3 separate regions of the Homo sapiens genome follow, and all the other regions are linked to region 1. The links are contacts of gene promoters, found by promoter capture Hi-C in blood cells and fetal thymus (Javierre and others, 2016). All regions are on one chromosome and are shown on one strand. Each heading gives the region's core, a stretch centred on a gene start or on the middle of the fragment in contact. The rest is flanking DNA. Distances are from core to core; before and after follow the strand shown.

The links. The method cuts DNA at HindIII sites, captures the fragments that hold promoters and counts their contacts. A CHiCAGO score of 5 or more calls a contact.
Region 2: a fragment that was not itself captured here is called in contact with the fragment with the promoter of NCAPH in region 1 in 1 of 17 cell types (naive CD8 T cells); the score reaches 5.4 in naive CD8 T cells.
Region 3: a fragment that was not itself captured here is called in contact with the fragment with the promoter of NCAPH in region 1 in 6 of 17 cell types (M1 macrophages, M0 macrophages, total B cells and 3 more); the score reaches 7.9 in M1 macrophages.

What each region holds. Positions count from the first base shown.
Region 1 is chr2:96,334,346-96,337,370 of GRCh38, forward strand. It overlaps NCAPH (non-SMC condensin I complex subunit H), which reads left to right and starts at 1,421. Exons shown (of 18, transcript NM_015341.5): 1 at 1,421-1,503. The coding sequence starts at 1,485. RefSeq lists enhancers at 894-1,735, 1,736-2,577 and a silencer at 1,496-1,815. The HindIII fragment of the contact is 5,174 bases long and covers 1-2,203 here.
Region 2 is chr2:96,578,378-96,581,402 of GRCh38, forward strand. It overlaps a transcript of KANSL3 not described here. Among named protein-coding and RNA genes, the nearest start is that of ARID5A, 43 kb to the left of the region's middle. The HindIII fragment of the contact is 3,284 bases long and covers 1-3,025 here.
Region 3 is chr2:96,112,729-96,115,753 of GRCh38, forward strand. It overlaps ADRA2B (adrenoceptor alpha 2B), which reads right to left. Exons shown (of 1, transcript NM_000682.7): 1 at 148-3,025. The coding sequence ends at 2,069. Among named protein-coding and RNA genes, the nearest start is that of ADRA2B, 2.3 kb to the right of the region's middle. The HindIII fragment of the contact is 642 bases long and covers 1,243-1,884 here.

The sequences.
Region 1 (3,025 bases), core at 171-2,670:
TGAGGTCAGGAGTTCGAGACCAGCCTGACCAACATGGTGAAACCCCATCTCTACTAAAAATACAAAAATTAGCTGGGTGTGGTGGTGGGCGCCTGTAATCCCAGCTATTCAGGAGGCTGAGGCAGGAGAATCGCTTGAACTTGGGAGGTGGAGGTTGCAGTGAGCTGAGATCGTGCCATTGCACTCCAGCCTGGGCAACAAAGCAAGACTCTGTCTCAAAAAAAAAAAAAAAAAAAGTGGTTTTCAACAAAGGGTGGCACTTTTTGATTGCCAAAATGAGCGACAGCACTGATGGCATTTAGTGGGCAAATGATGTTACGGGGGCTTAAGAGCCCACAAAGAGGGCAAACATCCTATCATGCCAAGGATTGTTTCACCCTGAATGCCAACAGTGCCCTTGAAGAGAAACACTGTAAAAGATGCCAGATATGAGAGTTACAAGAAATTCTAGGATGTGCTGGGGATATTCCAGGGAATCACCCTGGCCTTTACTCCCATAATTCAATCCTTAGGGTTAGATGAAACTGAGGGGACAGATGGCATTTTATGCTTATTTCGCTTTTTCGACCTTTATTTATTTTTTGAAGGGTGGGGGGTGTTCACAGGAAGCTATTCACAAGAATCTGAATAAAACGATGGCCTTCATCTTACACTATATTAAATGTACATTTTGTACTATATTTAATGTATACATAGCATTTCTGCATCAGTTCTTCCCCACCTGGACCGCTCCTCATTCCCACGTAGGCTCCCGCTCCCCTCCGTCCCTCTTCCCGGAGGTTTTCAGCGTTTTGCTGCCCACACAGCACAGATCTCTAAGGGAAATAAACCTCGTTTTCTCGATCATCTGCCTCCCCATTATAAAGTAAATTCCACGGGCTGAGCGCGGTGGCTCACGCCTGTAATCCCAGCACTTCGGGAGGCCGAGGTGGGCGGATCACCTGAGGTCAGGAGTTCGAGACCAGCCTGGCCAACATGGTGAAACCCCGTCTCTACTAAAAACACAAAAATTGGCCAGGCGTGGTGGCAGGCGCCTGTAATCCCAGCTACTCGGGAGGCTGAGGCAGGAGAATCGCTTTAACCCAGGAGGCGGAGGTTGCAGTGAGCCAAGATCGCGCCACTGCACTCCAGTCTGGGGGACAAGAGCTAGACTTCGTCCCAAAAAAAAAAAAAAAAGAAAGTAAATTCCACGAAAGACGGGCCTTGCTCACCCTGCTCGACGCTGGGTTCCCAAGCCCAGTCCTGCACCTAGTCCTCGAAGGAGGGGGTTTTCATACTATTTCAGGGGGTCCACCGACCCCAAGAAGCCCAATCAGACGGGGTCCTCAACCCAAAACTCACTCTGACGCCGCCCGCGGAGGCCCGAGGTGGTCTGCGCAGGCGCGCTGCTGGCCCGGCCCGCCGGCGACGTCACGCGGCCGTTACGGCGCTCAGGCGTCTCGACGCGCGCGATTTAAAACCAGCTCAGGAGACGCCAAGGAAAGATGGGACCTCCCGGCCCAGGTGAGCCGGGCGGTCGGGAGGCGCGGCGGGAAGGGCCCCTAGCGAAGCAGTACTTCGGGCGGGCAGGGCTGGCGGGCTGGCCTGGGCGGGGAGAGAGGATATGCTCAGCTCGGGTCTTGGCCCTGCGGCTGACAGCAGAGGCCGGTGCGGGGGGAGGGGAGGGCCGGCGCGGGGCGGGCGGACCTTGTGCGCTCAGCCAATCAGAAAGCGGCTTCGGCCGGAGTCGGAGAGCGCGCGGGCCCTGCCTCACACTCCTCAGTTCCCGGGCGGGCGGTGGGGCGGCCTCCTCCTTGGGCTCCTAAAGCGTGCTCGGTGTCTCTCCATTAAAATGGTGGTTTTCCTGGAATAGACGTTATTTTCAGGGCTTTGGAAGCGATGTGGTTACCGTTGTATGCTTAGCATGCATGCATTTATTTTTGCATCTATTCAAAAGTACTGAGCTCTCCCGTTGGGCGAACAAAATTGATAATATCTCTATACTGTTGGAGTTGGGGAGACAGACAGTAAACAAAAGAAATAATTACACATGAGGCTGAGTGCTGTGATTGAGTATAGCAGAGTAGGGGTGGCTCCGCCAGGGGTTCAGGGAAGATCTTTAGGCAGATACTAGGGAACGTGTTTCAGGCAGAAGGAGCAAGTACAAAAATGAGGCAGGGAAGAGCCTGGCCTGGCCTAGGACCTGACCAGAACATTGTGACCAAGCTTAGTGAGGCCTGACACGTAGGCAGGGTCTGGAGGCCTTGGGTAAGAGATTTGGAAATTGAGTTACATTTTGGACATGGTATGTGTGACTTACGGGAGAGACTCAGGTGAAGGGATCTATAATCACTTAGGTGAGAATTTGGCTCTCAGGGGAGTTATATGGACCACTCAGGGAAGTGACCCATGGATTGAGAAATAAATTTGGATACCATTATCATATAGACCATTAGACCATAAAACCATGGGAACAGGTGAGAACACTAGGAAGGCCCTGCACATCTAGGACCAACGTTTAGAAGCTGGATAGAGAAGGATGAGCTGGAAAAACTCAAAAGACAGTGGTATAGGAAGAAGCCAAGAGTGTTTCAACAAGGAAGGGACTGTCAGCTGTTTCAAATGCTGCTGGATTCCAAGAGAAAGGCCAGAAAATGACCATAGGGTTTAGGCAACATGGAAGTTATAGATGATCACGAAAAGATAGTTCTCATGAAGTTGGAATAGGAACCAGACCAGAGTGGGTTGAAAAATGAGTGGGAAATGAGGAAGTAGACATAGGAAGTGTCTTTGAGCTCAGTAACCATCGGTTGAATGAATGGATGCATAATATCAAAGGCAAGGAGAGAAACCACGGAAAGAAGATTTGGAGAATTAAAGCATGCCTCTAATTCCAAGTTTAGTTTCTCTCTTAGACAAGGTTCTCCTTAAGTGCTTCCTATTTCTGTTAAGGTATCCTCTCCAAAGGTCCAGGTTCCTTCCTTAGCCTGTAGCCTACTGTGCTCACATCCAAATACTGTCCTCATAAGTCCTCTTGATTCAGTTT
Region 2 (3,025 bases), core at 246-2,745, 240 kb after region 1:
AACTCCCGGTCTCAAGTGATCCTCCCTTCTCCTGAGTAGCTGAGTTTACAGGCGTGTACCCGCCTGGCTAATGAGTCCTAATACTTTTTTTTTTGAGACAGTGTCTCGCTCTGTCACCCAGGTTGGAGTGCAGTGGCGTGATCTCGGCTCACTGCAAGCTCCACCACCTGGGTTCAAGCTATTCTCCTGCCTCAGCCTCCTGAGTAACTGGGACTACAGGGACCCGCCACCACGCCCGGCTAATTTTTTTCTATTTTTAGTACCGACGAGATTTCACCGTGTTAGCCAGGATGGTCTCGATCTCATGACCTCATGATCTGCCTGCCTCGGCCTCCCAAAGTGCTGGGATTACAGGTGTGAGCCACCGTGCCCGGCCTAATGAGTCCTAATTCTTAATCCTTGGCCTTTCTCTTCAAGTTGCAAGTTGGGGCAGGAAACAAAGGTCAATGCAGGGCAGAGAATTTCTCCTCACGTGCCCCTCCCTTTTTATCAGGAGGAAACCCTTCCCAGTAGCCTCTGGCACAGTCCCCTTAAAATTCACTAGCCAGGACTGGGCTACATGCCCATCCCTCCCTGAGAAAGGGATCTCCCCCAAGTCTTCCACAACACTGTAATTCTAGTGGTATGAAGAATGGGAGAATAAGTCATCAGTTTTGTAGGCCATTCTTAACCTGCCCCTTGGCCACCCTGCCATCAGGATGCTTCCCTAGCCACCTTCTCTTCAAAAGCACCAGTAAATATAAAAAAATCCACTCTCTCCTACAGAGATATTAACCATCCTTTGCTTGAGCTACTAATACCTTACAGTCAGAGCCATCTCATCTATTCCAGTTTCTCAAGGAACCTTCCCCAAACCAAAAGCTCTCTTCCCCAAGAGGAATTCTGGTGCCAACTCATTACAAAAACTAATAAAAAACTACATGCATGGTGTGATTCCAACTACTGAAAAATATGTATGGAAAAGGACTAGAAACAAACACACTAAAATGTAAACAGACAATGCTTCTGGTTGATGAGATTATAGATATTCTTTTTTTTCTTCTTTATGCTTTTCTATACTGGCCAACATTTCTACTCTCAATATGTATGCCTTTTCCAGCTGAAAAATACATCTATCAGGTCAGATATTCTGGTTGCCCCTCCAGATCCATCCTTCTCCCTCACATCCCTGCTTTGCGCCCTAGGAAACTACCCCAGGAGGCTGACCTATAAGAACTGCATTATCCTCTGGCTTCCAGCAGGTGATGAGAGGCAAGAGAAGACATGGAAGTATTTATTTCCAACCTCCCACTCACCCAGCTCTCTCTGCAGCCTCTCCATGGCTACAGCTCTCCCAGAACCTAGTAACACTGCTCCTTCAGGCCTATGGGTGCAAGGCCTGTGGGAGCCCAGGGGGCTCTGAGAGGACAGGTGTGCTTATGTAGGCTGCAGGGATGGCGCCTGGTGGCGAAGGCTGCTCCTACCCACTCCTCCCTGCTTCATGAGCTCACTGAGGCCTTGCTGAAGCGTTGAGTGTGTGTCCTGGGAGCTTCAAAGCCCCGTTGTTTTCCTTCACTCTGTCTAAATTGTCCCTTCACCAATTCTAATATACCCTTTGAGTCTGCCATCTTTTCTTGCCAAGATGTGAACTAATGCATCTGTTAATAAAACTCTGAAAGACACACCTGTCCACTCAGAGTGGCAGAGACTTGAAAGTGTGTCAATTCACTTAGATGTGCACACTGATATGCATATGTAGCTCTTGGCACCTAAATAGGAACAGAACCTATCCTACAGCCTGCTGATGGCTTCCAGAGTAACTTCCTCCTTAGCTGAAGTGCCACTAGAGGAGGAATTCCAATTCTCGTTTTACTGGAACATAGGCTCCTTGACATGAGCATATCCTGCAACCCAACAACTCCATTCCTCCAACAGAAATGTGTGCATGTATTAACCAAAAGGCATGTACATAGTTGTATTATTTGCAATAATCCCAAACTATCACATGAAATAACATTTCATAAATGTTATATAACATCTCAAATGAACTATTACATACAACATGGATGTAATAGATGTTGTATGTAATACATCTATATACTTTCATAATGTTGAAAGAAGCTAGACATGCAAAAAATACATAATTCCACCTTTATTAAGTTTAAAAATAGGCGAAACCAACCTATGGTGGTAGAAGTCAGGAAAGAGGTTGTCCTGGAGCAGAAGGATAGTGTGGTAATGTTCTATTTCTTACCTGTATGTTGGTTAAACAGGTGTGTGTTGTTTGTGAAAATTCATTATACTGTATAGTTTCTATTGGTGCACTTTTATGCATATACATTATATTTGAATATAAAAGTTTGCATTTTAAAAAGTGTCATGTGTGGAATCCCTGCAAAACAGAGACATCATAGAGCCAAATAATGTTAGGTTTCCTATGCCTACAGTGGGCTCCACAGGAGGTACAAGACTTTTGTCTCTGCATTCCAGTAACCAGGATTCCAGCCCATGAGATAACTGCACTCCCTGAGTGAGGCCAATCCAGAGAAGCAGTAGCAAGAACTCAGAACCAGTGCTGCCACCTCCTGTTAGGCCAGGACAGTGAGACAGAATGAGCCCTTCTAGAAAACATCTGGCTCTTTCCCAGCCTTCAACCAGCGGCTGTGCAGCCCTGCAGACTCTCTGTTTTGAGTCTCAGGTCCCTCCTCTGGGAATTGAGGAGGATGCCTGAGAAGAGAGCCCCAAAGCCTAGTGCTTTAGTTTCCCCGCTTTAAGAATCACCTAAGGGGCAGGGCACGGTGGCTCACGCCTGTAATCCCAGCACTCCGGGAGGCCGAAGCAGGCAGATCACAAGGTAAGGAGCTCGAGACCAGCCTGACCAACATGGTGAAACCCCATCTCTACTAAAAATACAAAAATTAGCCAGGCGTGGTGGCACATGCCTGTAATCCCTGCTACTCAGGAGGCTGAGGCAGGAGAATCGCTTGAACCCAGAAGGCGGAGGTTGCAGTGAGCCAAGATCATGCCACTGTACTCCAGCCTGGGC
Region 3 (3,025 bases), core at 314-2,813, 220 kb before region 1:
AACCAGCCAGCCACATCTCGGGGAGGAGAGGACTACTGGCCCTGGGAGGGAGCCCCAGGTCATTAGGCCAGCACCCAGAGTCTGCTGTGCCAGCAGCTGAGGAATAACTGCTCCAGGCAGCCTTTGGGCAACAAGGACACCACTTACTTATTACAAAATATCCTTTATTGATAAAATAGCTCAGAGTTTAAAAAAAAAAAAAACACCACCTGCATGTCGCAATAAGAGGTCACAGGCAAGAACACTGGGGGTCCCATGGGGCGCACACAAGACCGGCCAGCAGAGGGTCACAGTCAGTCCCTCTCCTGGCCCAGCTCCCCACCACATCCCAGGGCGATACTCTGGCCTCAACAACCCACTGAGGACCAAGCTGGGAAGCCTCCCACACCCCAGGAAGGACTCTTTTTGGTCCCCTCCATTCTCTCTACACCCAGAAAACTCCCTCGGTGCCCTTCCAAATCTAGCAGGTCCATCTGGCCCATTCCCCCGACACCTGCCAAGCTAAGATGCCTACTGGCCCAATGTTGAAGCCAGGCCCTCTCCAAGGGAAGGCCGATAAACCTCCTTTCCACACTTCCAACTGTTCTGGGTGCCAGGTTTTGGGGTGGGACTGAGAACCAGGAAGCAGGGGTCCTCAATGCACAGCCCCATCAGCATTGCGGGGAGCAGCGTGGCTGGGTCCGAGGCAGTCCACAAGCACCCACCTGGGGGGATCAGTTGTGGTTCACAAGGACTCATTTGGGGCTTGGAGACCTGGCCGGGCACTCCAGTGGGAGGCTCCCCTAGGGGCGCACCAGGCTCTGATGCCAGTACCCCACCTGGGGGCGCTGCCACCTGTCACAGGCTCTCATCTTAGACTGTTGCCGAGGTGTGGATATTTTGAGCTGTCTTGGGGAGACAATTTGCCTCCTTGATGACAAAAGACTTATCCCCCACTGGGGAGACCCAAGCCACTAAAAACCCTCTTGGTGTTGCCGGTGAAATGTCGAAACGTTGTCATGTAGCGTAATAACTCAGACCTTTGCAGCCAGAAGAACACATTCTCAAAGAGATCCTTTAACTTGAAATAGTGATTCTGTCTGCCACTCCCGGCTTCCAGTTCGGGGTAGGAATTCACACACCCCAGGGACAGAACAAAAGTCTACAGGAAGACAGGTGGTGGTAAACACAGAGGAAAGGGATTTTTATATCACCATATAATCACATTTTTGGTTCTCTAGTGTGTTCCCCCACAGAGCTCAAAGCTTTCTGCAAAGCCTTTCATCTCCCTGCAGCAAGTAGGCAGTGAGCTATTGTCGCCCCGATTTTTGCAGGGGGTGAATGCCAGTGATCGGGGATCTCCCGTCGAGGCAGAGACCAGGCCTCCAAGACCGCCCCAGCGAGGCATCCACGTGGCCACCCACCTACCGGAGGGGTGCTGGGTAAGGAAGCCGATCCATTGTTCTGGCTTTCAAAGGAACCACAGATCCGAAAACAGGCAAAGGGGGAAAGGAGGGCCCAGAGACGATGCCACCCCATAAGCCCCCATCCCAGCGCCTGCCAGGGACCGCGAGTGCCTAGCGTGGGTGATCAGTCTTCGTTTCTTCCTCCCCCTCAGCAGCAGGCCCCACTGGGAAAAGTGGAAGGCTGGCTCCGTGCTCTTTGTGGGTGGGGGGGAGATGAAAAAGAAACGAAAACACCACAAGCAAGTGACCTGCCAGGAACACAAGGTCCTCAAGAAAGGGAAGCCCAGACATTGGTCTGGAGAGCATGGGGCTCTGGGAAGAAAGTGCTCTCTCTTCTCCTGGTCTTGGCTATGTTCCAGAGGATTTGAACCACCTCCATCGGCCTGTGCTCAGGGAGAGGGTGGAGAAGGGGTCCCCCACAGCTAAGCCGGCAAGGGGAAGCTTCACTGGGACCCTTGCTAGCAGCCCCCCTGCCCACCCCTCCCAAGGGGTTCCTAAGATGAGGCCTACAGGATCTGGGCAGGGAGCAGAAAGCCCAGGGGAGGCAGCCACACACAGCAGGGCAAGAAGCAGGGTGACCCCGGCGCCACCGCACCAACCCCACAGGGGCAGCGCAGGCGGGCTCACCAGGCCGTCTGGGTCCACGGGCGGCACAGGATCCTCCGGAAGGCACGGCGGAAGTCCTGGTTGAAGATGGTGTAGATAACAGGGTTCAGTGAGCTGTTGCAGTAGCCGATCCAGAAGAAGAACTGGAAGAGGCCATGGGGCACCTTGCAGTGCTTCGGGCAGATGGCTCCCAGGCTGTAGCTGAAGAAGAAGGGGAACCAGCAGAGCACAAAAACGCCAATGACCACAGCCAGCACGAAGGTGAAGCGCTTCTCCCGGGTCAGCTGCGCCCGTCGACGCCACCACTGCCCACCTATAGCACCCACGCCCCTGCCCAGGAGCACCTGGCCACGTAGGGTGGCCAGCACCCGGGAGCCCTGTGGCTGCTGCAGCGGGGGGCTGCAAGCTGAGGCCGGAGACACTGGCACTGCCTGGGGTTCACACTCTTCCTCCTCCTCCTCCTCCTCTTCCTCCTCTTCAGCTTCATCCTCTGGAGATGCCCCACAAACACCCTCCTTCTGGCCCTGGCCTGAGTTGGGAAGGGCAGCCCAACTGGGTGGCAAGGCCCGGGTCCCAGTATCTTCAGGGGTCTCCCCCTCCTCCTTCTCCCCAGTGGACTTCGAGTGTCCGTTGACCTCTCTGGCAGAAGCCACAGAGGCCAGGGCTGGCAGTTTGGCTGAGGCCAAAGCCCCACCATGGTCGGGTCGGGGCTGCTTGGACTCACCCTGCCCAGGCCCCCCCTTGGCCCTGGGACCTCTGCGGTTGCTGCGTTTGGCGATCAGGTAGATGCGCAGGTAGACAAGGATCATGATGAGGCAAGGAGCAAAGAAAGATCCGATGCTGGAGGCCAGGATGTACCAGGCCTCCTGGTTGAGCTTGCACTGGGGGCGCCCGCGCGGCTGGGGGCCCTGGTCGCCCTTGTAGATGAGGGGCGGCAGCGAGATGACGGCGGCGATGAGCCACACAGTGAGGAT